Linked DNA regions of Homo sapiens: region 2 is linked to region 1. Evidence: promoter capture Hi-C in 16 types of primary human blood cells and fetal thymus (Javierre and others, 2016). All regions are on one chromosome and are shown on one strand. Each heading gives the region's core, a stretch centred on a gene start or on the middle of the fragment in contact. The rest is flanking DNA. Distances are from core to core; before and after follow the strand shown. Region 1 holds the start of TBRG1 (transforming growth factor beta regulator 1). Region 2 has its middle 14 kb from the start of VWA5A.

Evidence for each region. The method cuts DNA at HindIII sites, captures the fragments that hold promoters and counts their contacts. A CHiCAGO score of 5 or more calls a contact.
Region 2: a fragment that was not itself captured here is called in contact with the fragment with the promoter of TBRG1 in region 1 in 3 of 17 cell types (erythroblasts, total B cells and naive B cells); the score reaches 7.7 in erythroblasts.

What each region holds. Positions count from the first base shown.
Region 1 is chr11:124,620,568-124,626,054 of GRCh38, forward strand. TBRG1 (transforming growth factor beta regulator 1) reads left to right here and starts at 2,297. Exons shown (of 9, transcript NM_032811.3): 1 at 2,297-2,666; 2 at 4,364-4,434; 3 at 5,104-5,336. The coding sequence starts at 2,517. It overlaps LOC124902779 (a long non-coding RNA gene), which reads right to left and starts at 2,634. Exons shown (of 2, transcript XR_007062932.1): 1 at 1-2,634. RefSeq lists an enhancer at 2,374-2,443. The HindIII fragment of the contact is 1,322 bases long and covers 2,090-3,411 here.
Region 2 is chr11:124,098,298-124,103,748 of GRCh38, forward strand. No RefSeq gene overlaps it. Among named protein-coding and RNA genes, the nearest start is that of VWA5A, 14 kb to the right of the region's middle. The HindIII fragment of the contact is 1,717 bases long and covers 2,463-4,179 here.

The sequences.
Region 1 (5,487 bases), core at 1,047-3,546:
CCATCTAAACCAGGAACTCATTTCACCAGGGGCTGGGATTATGGGCTATGGACTTCTTCACAACTGTTAACGGAGCCAGGTATGCTTTTAATACTCCAGAGGATACTATGCCTTCCCTTACAGCTAATCACTGAATAGCAAGCACTTACAAATGGGTAGACAGTAAAGTGCTATTGAACTTCTTTCTCTTCTGATTTATTACCCTATTTTAGCTTCTAACTCCCATTCCTATGCCTGTAGTTAATGGAACTTTGGTCTGACTTCAAAGACCACACTCAGACACAATATCATGCTGTCTGCCATTTTATATTTCTTTTTAGAGCTACACATTATGCATTTCTTTAAAGAATTTTTGCATAGGCCATTTAGACCCTTCTTCGTATAGTTAAGTAGAAAAGTTGTGTTGCTTCTGACAGATTCAGGTAAGTTTACCTAACACAAGCAAAGAGCTGATAGATGGTTTCCTATTGTCACTGGGTCAAAGTCCAACTCTTCAGTTGGTACACAAGACTTTTCATGACCCAAAAAACCCTACTTACTGCTTCAGTCTCTCTTCTTGCTTCTCTCTACACACATCTTTCACACTGATCAACTACTTGCAGTTCCCATACTGAGCCTTTGCATATGCTGTCTCCACCATCCAGCATGCCCCCCTTTGTTCTTCACTGGGCCAACCAACCACTACCTCTCCTTCAGAGTCTGCCCAGATGTATCTCCTTTAAGAAACCTTTCCTATCTCCTCCCTCCTTCCCTGAGTGCTGCCAAATAAAATAAAACCTACCTCTGAAACAAACTTATTATACCATATTAACATTGCCAATTTACTTGTCTGTCTTTCCTTCTTAAATTAAGGTTCTTAAAGGTGGTATCATAATAGGCACTAGGTAAATATTCTTCTAAACAAATAAGGACTGAATGAGTTGCTCAGTGGCATGACCTTTGTGGAGCACACATATCCAGCCTCTGAACAGTCCTATATGGAAAAAGCTTTGGACGCAAAGATATGCTTTTAATGGAATTGACCAAAAAGTCAAAGAACATGGAAATAATTATGCAAAATATAATATAGCCATAACTGGAATATTAACCAGCCACTTAAAATTATGCTTATAAGGAAGCTATACTAACATTTGTGAAACTGAAATGATACAATGGTAAATGAACAAAAAGAAAACTTTATTTTCAGTATTGTCTAACCTATACAAAAATGCATAAAATATTAGACACATATACTAACATGGTAAAAGTAGTTCATTCCAAGTGGTAGCATTATGGATTTTTAAACCTTTCTTGTACTATATTTTCTAAATTTCTAAAGTTCGAATGAAATGTTTTGTAAGTGTAAGGAAATGTGTCCAATGAAGAAGAAACAAAAAATATCTTCATGCAAATCCCACTAAAGTCCATTGGCCAAAACAGCCTGCAAACTAGGACAAAGGATAGCACTTTTCTTCCCCCTAGATGTGATACATGTATATGAAAATAAATAATACAAATAAAGTCAGACCCCAAAGCCCGCAAGGACAAAATACAGCAGAACAGCAAATTTTTTTTTTGAGAGAAAAAACTAGAGAGTTACTGAACTAGTTATTGGCATCGCTGGAAGAAGATGCAAGCAAGCCTTCTGCCATCCAGCCTGGGTCACTTACCAATACCGCACCCTAAAGATTTTTCTATCTTCCCTAATTTTAAATAGACCTTGGTTGTAAAGTTAGAACCATATACATGTACATATTATGTACAGAAATACACTTCTGGTTTCACTAGACAAACATTTACTGAGTGCCTACTTAGTGCTAGTATTAAAACTGCGTGTTAAATCTCTCATCTTCCCTACTAGAAAGAGCCAAGGCCTTTCTTCCTGTTCACTACTGTGTTCCCAGCTCCTGGGAAGATGATAGCATTAGGAGGCCCTGCAAACACATTTCTGTGAGCTGCAGAAAGGAACGAAGCAGGGAAAGAAGCAGAGTCCCAGCACTTGGGCTCACTTTGTCCTACAGTCTGGGAAAGCCTGTCTGCACGAAGCATGAAAAACGTATTAAAACGCAGTGGCCCAGCGGGGGAGCGTGAATGAGAGCTCGCATTGGTAAGCTTCTTGTTAGTTCGTTGGTTCAACTATAGTACCCTTCAGCTAAGCACACGGCCGCCGGCCCTCCCTCCTCTCCTCATCCAGCACTAGCCCCCAGCTGTCTCTTTCCTCCCGGTGCCCACGATCGCACCGCCCAGACCACCCTACTCTCCCTGCCCCGGAAGTTACACACTGCCGACACCGGGACGTAACTTCCGGGAAGGGCTTACTTCCAAGACAGACACGGAAGTGCTGGGAGGCGCCGGGAGCCCGTTCGGTTGCGGGTGTCTCTGGCCCTGCGGTCAGCCCTGGGAACGTCCCGGAGAGCTAGATTCCTAGAGGCCCGATTCCGCTAGCCCGGAACAGACAAAGCCAGCGCTCCCGCCCGCTCCCCGACTTAGGATCCGATGCCGGCAGCGTCCTGGGGCCCCCGTAGCGGGGCTGGACCATGAGCCTGCTGGACGGCCTCGCTTCCTCGCCGCGGGCTCCGCTGCAGTCCAGCAAGGCCAGGATGAAAAAGCTCCCGAAGAAGAGCCAGAATGAGAAGTACCGGCTGAAGTACCTGCGGCTGCGCAAAGCGGCCAAGGCCACGGTGTTTGTGAGTCTGACCCACGTTCAGCCGGTCCCCTCCTGGAGACTCCCTCACAAAATCTTTCCCCAAGCTGTTCCCCCTTCCCAGTGTGACAGTATTAATACAGTGTTGGCTTTTCCGTATACGTTACTACTTGTTAGCCTTGTGTCCTTGGACAAATTACGTAATTTCTCTGTGTCCTCATCTGTAAATGAGCTAGTAACTGTCTTGCAGAATAATGAATATTAAATGAGTAAAGAAAAGTGCTTGGTGCGTAAAAGACATACCAATAAATTTTAGTCATCGTTGTTACTGCAGGACTCTAGGAAATGTGTTTGATTCTCGAGATACAGCCCTGAGAATTAGGCATTATTTGTAAAATGAGAACACTGAAGCCCAGAGAGATGATTTGCCCAAGGGTACTGTGTCAGAGCCCTGACTCCAACTTAGATAAACCTGATTCCGTTTTATGACTTCCAGTACACAGACTATTTTCTGAGCACCTCAAATCCCCATAACTGACCCTTTGCCCAAAGAGGTACATGAAACTGTCAGTAATTTCCCCCCTCTAACCTTTGAGTGTTCCAAGTGTTTCTTCCTTTCTTTTATTGTAGAAGCACTGGATTTATTGAGTGAATAAACTTAATATAGCTTGCCAGCCATAACTTTATATTAGAATAGTTTGGCTTGCCTCAGTGCTTGGAAATAGGGGTGGAGTCCTCAAATGTCCCCCCACATCCAAGTCAACAGTTCATCTCTTCTCTCTACCAAAAGCTTGAACGTCTCTCAGCATTTTTGGAAGCATAAGGAAAGGTTCAGAAATTAGAATACACATTCCAAAAGCACTTATTCAGCACTTGCTATGTGTATTGCTTGCTATTTGCACTGGAGAGAAACAAGAAAAGTAAAACTAAGAGAACTTAGCATCTGATTGACTGTTCCCTTTCTTTTATCCCCTATACGTCAAAGGTACCTAAAGCTTGGAATTTATGTTATTTCAAGGATATTGGTTCCATCAAATACATAATGAAGATTTTGTGAAGAAAAAGCGATGTTGTTTTGAACATTGAGAGTTTGAAGTTCCACCTATGGGGGCATTCAGATTCAGCATTCCCTTCAGGATTGGTGCTTGGGAGATAGATTGAGTCATCATTTACAAAAAAAAAAAAAAAAAAAAGAAAAAAGATAATACTTGAATTCGTATAAGTAGATTGTGAAGTTTAAGAATTTTACACACTAAATTTGATTTTGTTCTGTCCAGTTTTTCTCTATTTGGGTTAGACTGGCTTTGTAAGTTTTTCAAGAGTTGAGGCACTTGGGAATAGACAGTTTTCATATTTATAGTATTTAATTTAAGCATATAAGGATTTAAGCAGTATGCCTTTTTCTTTGCCAAAGGCTATACTAATTAGGGTGACCATTAATCTTGGCTTGCCCAGGACAGTCCTGGTTCACCGTATTGTTCTGGCATAAGCATTAATAGTACCCCCTTTTCACTCAAAGATGTCCCGGATTGGATAATAAATTACATAGCTATACCCTGTCCATAGTAGAACCTGACTACCTTTATCTATGGATTTATTTATAGTTTGTCACACGGTCGAATAGCTCCTTCTTCTCAGTAATACAAGCTTTTTTGGTTTGAAATATGGATCCTCTTCCCAGCATAATAATGTGATTTTTTTATTCATTTTATGTTATTATATTCACATTTTTACTTAAAGGAAAATGCTGCTATTTGTGATGAAATTGCTCGTCTTGAGGAAAAATTTCTTAAAGCAAAAGAAGAAAGAAGGTGAGCTGGCTTCATTTTGTGTTCAGCATCACCTTTTTGGTGATTGATTTGGTGATTGATAATGGTGTTACTGCTCTGGAGACTTTTTTTCCCAGTGGGATTGATGCGTATCGCACAGCCCCTTGGCCACTTGATCAAGCACAGAGAAACTTACAGCCTGAGGCATTGGTGCCTGCACACCCAAGTTATGTTGGGCCATGGCGATGAGACAGCTCCTCTACTCATCTTTCTGAAAAAGCCATCTTGCCACATCTAATAAATAATCTTACTAAGATTATTTAATCTTATGGCCCAATTATAAAAGCCAAGTGATAAAAGCAACTGCCTCTCGTTCTACAAATATTTATTCTGTACGTACTATTCTGTGCAAAGCACAATGGGTATATATACATGTGTAAATAATGTGCCTTTCAGAAGCCTAACACCGTCCAACATCAAGGTAGAGGAACCGTCCAGATGCAAGAGATAAGCTACAGTTCTTATCCTTGGCCTCTTGAAGTATTGATTATCCTCCAGGGCTTTATGATTCATAGGGCCTAATAAGAACCTTTCTTTTATGAGTATAGTAATCTTTGTATATAATTCTGGCTTTTCCCAGTACTTGAGTAAAATACTGAATTGAGACAATACGGAAGTTCATTTCTCTGCTCCTTTCCTTCCTGATCTCAGGTACTTGCTAAAGAAGCTCCTCCAGCTTCAGGCTCTAACTGAAGGGGAAGTACAGGCTGCAGCTCCTTCCCACAGTTCCAGTTTGCCCCTGACTTATGGTGTGGCCAGCTCTGTGGGAACTATACAGGGAGCTGGGCCTATTTCAGGGCCCAGCACTGGGGCTGAGGAACCATTTGGGAAGAAAACTAAGAAGGAGAAAAAAGAAAAAGGCAAAGAGAACAACAAACTGGAAGGTACTTTGGGGAGATGATATCAGTTGCCCCAGTGACTCACCTACTAATGACAGTTAGACCTGGTACTAACTGACAGACACACACAGCTGCAGATGTACTTAGAGTCTCATCTGGTTCTTAAGGAGCCCTAGGAGCCCTTGAGAAAACAAAT
Region 2 (5,451 bases), core at 2,071-4,570, 520 kb before region 1:
TGGTTTAACTGAAATTTTGTATCTTTCACCAACATCTGCCCCATCCCACCTGATAACTACTATATCATTCTACTCTTCTGTTTCTAAGAATTTCACTTTTTTAGTCTCCACATACAAGTGAGATCATGTGGTATTTGTCTTTCTGTACCTGGCTTATTTCACTTCACATAATATCCTTCAGTGTCATCTACACTGTCACAAATGACAGGATTTCCTTCTTCTTAAAGGCTGAATCGGCCAGGCACAGTGGCTCACACCTGTAATCCCAGCACTTTGGGAGACAAAGGTGGGTGGATCACGAGGTCAGGAGATCGAGACCATCCTGGCCAACACGGTGAAACCCTGTCTCTACTAAAAATACAAAAATTAGCCGGGCATGGTGGCATGTGCCTGTAGTCCCAGCTACTCAGGAGGCTAGGGAAGGAGAATTGCTTGAACCCGGGAGAAGGAGGTTGCAGTGAGCCAAGATCACGCCACTGCACACCAGCCTGGGTGACAGAGTGAGACTCCATCTCAGGAAAAAAAAAGAAAAGAAAAGAAAAAAGAAAAAAAAAGGCTGAATCATATTCCATTATGTAGATATACCACAATTTCTGTATTTATTCATCCACTCATGGGCACTTAGAGATTGAAAGATTGGCTATTGTGAATAGTGCTGCAATGAACATGAGCAAGCAGATATCCCTTCAATATACTGATTGCAAAGAAATACAAATTTTTAAATTTTCGTTTCATTTAACTTTACACAGCAAAACCATGTACTCAGGATTTCAATTTTCTTCAACAGATGAAGGTTACATTAGGAAAGTTATGTAAAAAAAAATTATCCAGTAGGAAATTTAATTTTTTAGAAACTAATATTCATTCACAAAACCTTGCAATGCATACAGCACTGTGCACAATAGTAAAAGTCATATAGACAACTAAATGATGACATGGTGTACTTGACCTAGGCTCTCAATATGGGACAGAGAAAGGGTAAAGATTACAGAGAACTAGTGGGGGACACCATCATTCTTCCCTTCTCTCCTGGCTTCAGCTTTCCCACTGTGACAGGTGGAATAAATCAGGTAGCTCTTGGGCCGCAGGTCCTGCTGTCTCCAATTCAGCCTAGAAAGAAGAGTCTCCACTTAGGCTTGGATTAAGCCACATTTTCCACTCATTTTCCCAGAGAACTTTATGACTGGGAATATTGAGATCTTGCTGATCTTTTCATTCTCCATTTGCTGGTGATTTCGATTTTCATTCTTTGTGAGTGAGAGCCTAGAAGTTAAGTAGAAGTTTGAGACCCCAAACTCATGTATAGTCATTCTGGTAAGAAATAGGATCAATACTGTAGAAGAAAAGTATTAAAACTGCTAGCAAACACTAGAGGTAGACAATAATAAATTTATAGGGTTGCTGACCTGCTTGGTTTGTGATTTTTCTCTAAAAGAGCATAACAAGGTGGGTGTGTGAATGGAACAAGCAGGTGAGCTCACTGAAGACTGGGCAGGAAGACATGATGGAGGGAAGGATTTTAGTAATTTAGAACTAATTATAATAATGTTTAAGAAATCTGAAGCAGATAAGAAGCTAAGAAAAGGCTACAAGAGGAGAAAAGTTTACATGAACAAATCAGAGATTTTATTGAGGTCATTTTAGCCTTTATTAAGTCAAAAATTTATTACAGCTACCAACATACACAAAAACAGCCATGTTCTGGTGAACAGGAACTAGCCAAAGTCTCTGTCCTCAATGAGCTTACAGTCTAGTAGAAGAAGAGAGGCATTGGTCAAATAATCCTACATATATAAATGATAATTATTTAAGGCGGTAAGGGCTAGGAAGAAGTGCTGTGGATTGAAAAGCTATCGTGGTAGAGTATTTGTATCCTACTCATGTTCCTCTTTCATATCAGTAAATTAAATATGTATCCACATCATGATTTATATGGCTAGCTGATGTTCCCTGAAGGTAGAAGGGGACTTCCCTGAGAAACTGTTATCCCAGCTGAGATCTGAAAGTGAAAACCTTTCTAGGCGGGGGTAATAGCATGCGCAAAGCCTTCATTGGAAAGATGTAAAGTATATTTGAAGAACTTGAGGAAAGAGAGGAAAAAAATTGAGATAAAACTTGAGAGGCAGAAAAGCAAATGATGACTAAAGGCTCTGCTCTTTAAAGATTGCGATCTCTACATTAGGGGGCTTAAGAAAATGTAAGACAGTTTTAAGCAGCATTGAGTTTCGGCACATTGTGGAAGAGAGAATGTGAAAGATAATTCTAGCTACAGTCAGGAGAGCAGTTGTAGGGCGCAAGAGCACCTTCAGGGAGACAAATAAGGAAGATCACTGGGCTATAGAATTTTGAGATATTTGGTCAGGAAAAAAAGAGGAAAGATAATCACTAGGGCAGAGAAATGCTGCGGGGAATGTGTGTGGGTTAAGGCCCTGCTTTAGCCTCGTGTGACAATGTCAGAACAAAGCTTCATTTTCTGCCTTACGTTTCTATACCTGAATGTGCACTACAAACCATGTTTTAACTCTAATTATCAGGTAAAGCCCCACACGGTATCTTCTGGGAATACCCAGAGGATTAGAACCAACAGAGGATAGTAACAAGATAAGAATGAGCATAATCGTACCCCACTCTGTGGGATTCGAATATTTTATTACAAATGAGTTTTCTCTCAGATGAGCTTTCACGCATCTGAGAGATTGAAAGGAAAAAAAGAAGTTGGGGTAAGTTTTTTTTTGAGGGGGGTGTGGAAGGCCAAATGTTTATTTCTAAAGTTTCATCAAATTTGCTGTATTGTGCATAGCTGCATGAAGATCTGAGACAGATTCCCATCTACATCCACAAACTAATTGTGTGGCTTAAAGAAAATTACCTAACATCCCTAAATCTCATTTCATCTTCTGTAAAATGATCTCATAGAACTCATAGGTAAATTACATTAGATAATATATAAAAAGCAATTACGCAGTGCCTGGTGAGGAATAAGGACTCAATGAATGGTAACTTATTACTCTAGGCAGATCTTCTGAAAAGCTACCTTAGACTACACTTCTCAAACTCTTTCTCTGCCCACACCAAATGGAGGTATAAAAAATAAAGAAATAGTGATTTGAGAGGGTTCAACTACAGTAGACGTAGTTACAGGAAAAAGGAGATAACTAATAAGCCACAGAATGTGCGAAAACTGCATAAGCAAACTTTAAAAAAAATGTAGGCCAGGTGTGGTGGCTCACATCTGTAAGCCCAGTACTTTGAAAGGCCAATATGAGAGGATCACTTTAGCCCAGGAGTTTGAGACCAGCCTGGGGGCAACATAATGAGATCTCATCTCTAAAAGAAATTTCAAAAATTGTCTGGATGTGGGGTGCACACCTATAGTCCCAGATGCTCTGGAGGCTGAGGTGGGAGGATCTCTTGAGTGGGGAGGTCCAGGCTATAGTGAACCATGATTGCACCACTGCACTCCAGCCTCGGTAACAGAGCAAGATTCTGTCTCAGAAAAAGAAAATTGTGGTAAAATACACAAAGCATAAAATTTAACATCTTAACCATTTTGAAATATATAGTACAGTAGTGCTAAGTTTATTTACATTGTTGCTTGACTATCTACATTGTTGCTCAACTAATCTCCTGGACTTTTTCATCTTGCAGAACTGAAACTCTATTACCATTAAACAACTTCTCCATTTCCTTCCAACATCTGTGGCTCCTGGGAACCAGCATTCTAATTTCTTTTTCCATGAATGTGACTACCCTAGGTACCTCATGTTACTGGATTTAAACAGTCTTTTTGTGACTGGCTTATTTCACTTAGCATAATGTCCTTGAGGCTTATCCATGTTGTGGCATGTGTCAGAACTTCCTTTCTTTTTAAGTCTGGATAATGTTTTGTTGTGTGTATATACCACATTTAGTGTATCCATTCATTGAATGAATACTGGGTTGCTTTCGACTCTTGCCTATTGTGATTAATGCTGCTAGGAACGTGGGTGTACAAATGTATCTTCAAGACCCTGCTTTTATTTCTTTTGTATGTATAGCAAGAGCTGGAATTGCTGGATCATATGGTAATTCTGTTTTTACTTTTTTAAGAAAATACAATACTGTTTTCCATATCATCTGCACCATTTTACATTCTCGTCATTAGTGTACAAGGGTTCCAATTTATCACATCATAGCCCAAGCTTATTACTATTGTAATTTTTAAAATAGTAGCCATCCTTATTGAAGTGATATGTCATTGTGGTTTTAATTTGCATTTCCTCAATGCTCAGTGATATTGAACATCTTTCCATATACTTATTTGCCATTTGTGTCTCTTCTTTGGATAAATGTCTATTTAAGTCCCTTACCCATTTTTCAATCAGGTTATTTGCTTTTGTTGCTGTTGTTGTTAATGAGGTAAGATTTTAAAAAGTGAATATGTGTGTCTGTGTGTGTTTATGTATGTGTGCACATGTGTTTTAAATAAAATCTCATGTTGTGTGCTTTTAGATATAGGAAAGATTTAAATGGTTAAAGTTTCTCTTTTCAGTGCCAGTCATTGCAAGACTAATTTAGAAAAAGCCAAAAAGTTGGTCATTCAGATTTTGTTTTTTATATATCATCAGTTTTACCTAAACATGAATATATATTTAAATTCAGACATAATATTATTCTGTATCTTAATTATTTCGCACACGTTCCTCTGTATCGATAAATATACAATTGCATCACAATTTGAATGGGTAAAGAGCTATCCATTCATTCATTCAGCAAACCTACACTGGAAGCTTACTATGTCACTGGGCTATGTCCTATGGATACAATGGTGAGCAAGACACACATAATCCCTACTTTTATGAAACTTTCCATTGTCTAGAAAAGAAATCTGTTATAGAAGTATCAGTGTGTTGAACATCTGTCCCTAAACACTATTCAGGCTTTACCAGATATCATGACATGTAGATTCTTCTACAAATACCCTGCACTAGTAGAACAGCAAACTAACACTAGGGTTATTTGAATCCAGCATATCATCTCTGATAGGCATCTCCAAAGTGTGGGAATAAGATGCTATGACATCTTGGATTTTTGCCAATCAAGTTAGGAGGAGCCATAGAATCCTCCTATTGCAATAAAACCGTTTAACTATGCTTGAAGGAGCTTCATTTTATCCTTTTTGCTTCATGCTATTTGTAAAGTAAGCATTTTTATTAGAGATTTTTACTTGTTTTTGTTTACTGGTTTCAAATACGAAGGGAACTTTGGGGACTATAAATGGAATAGAAAAACTACAAATAACTAAAATGTCATGGAAACTAGGAGCTGGCGTGTCTGTGGGATCCCCAATTAATAGTACCATTTCTTTCACTTTAGATTCTGAGAAAGTCGAGAAACAGTTATCAACTCCAGTCTTGTTGGAAGTTAAGTTACAAAAAGTAACTTGCTGGGAGAATCAAATGAGCATGCCAA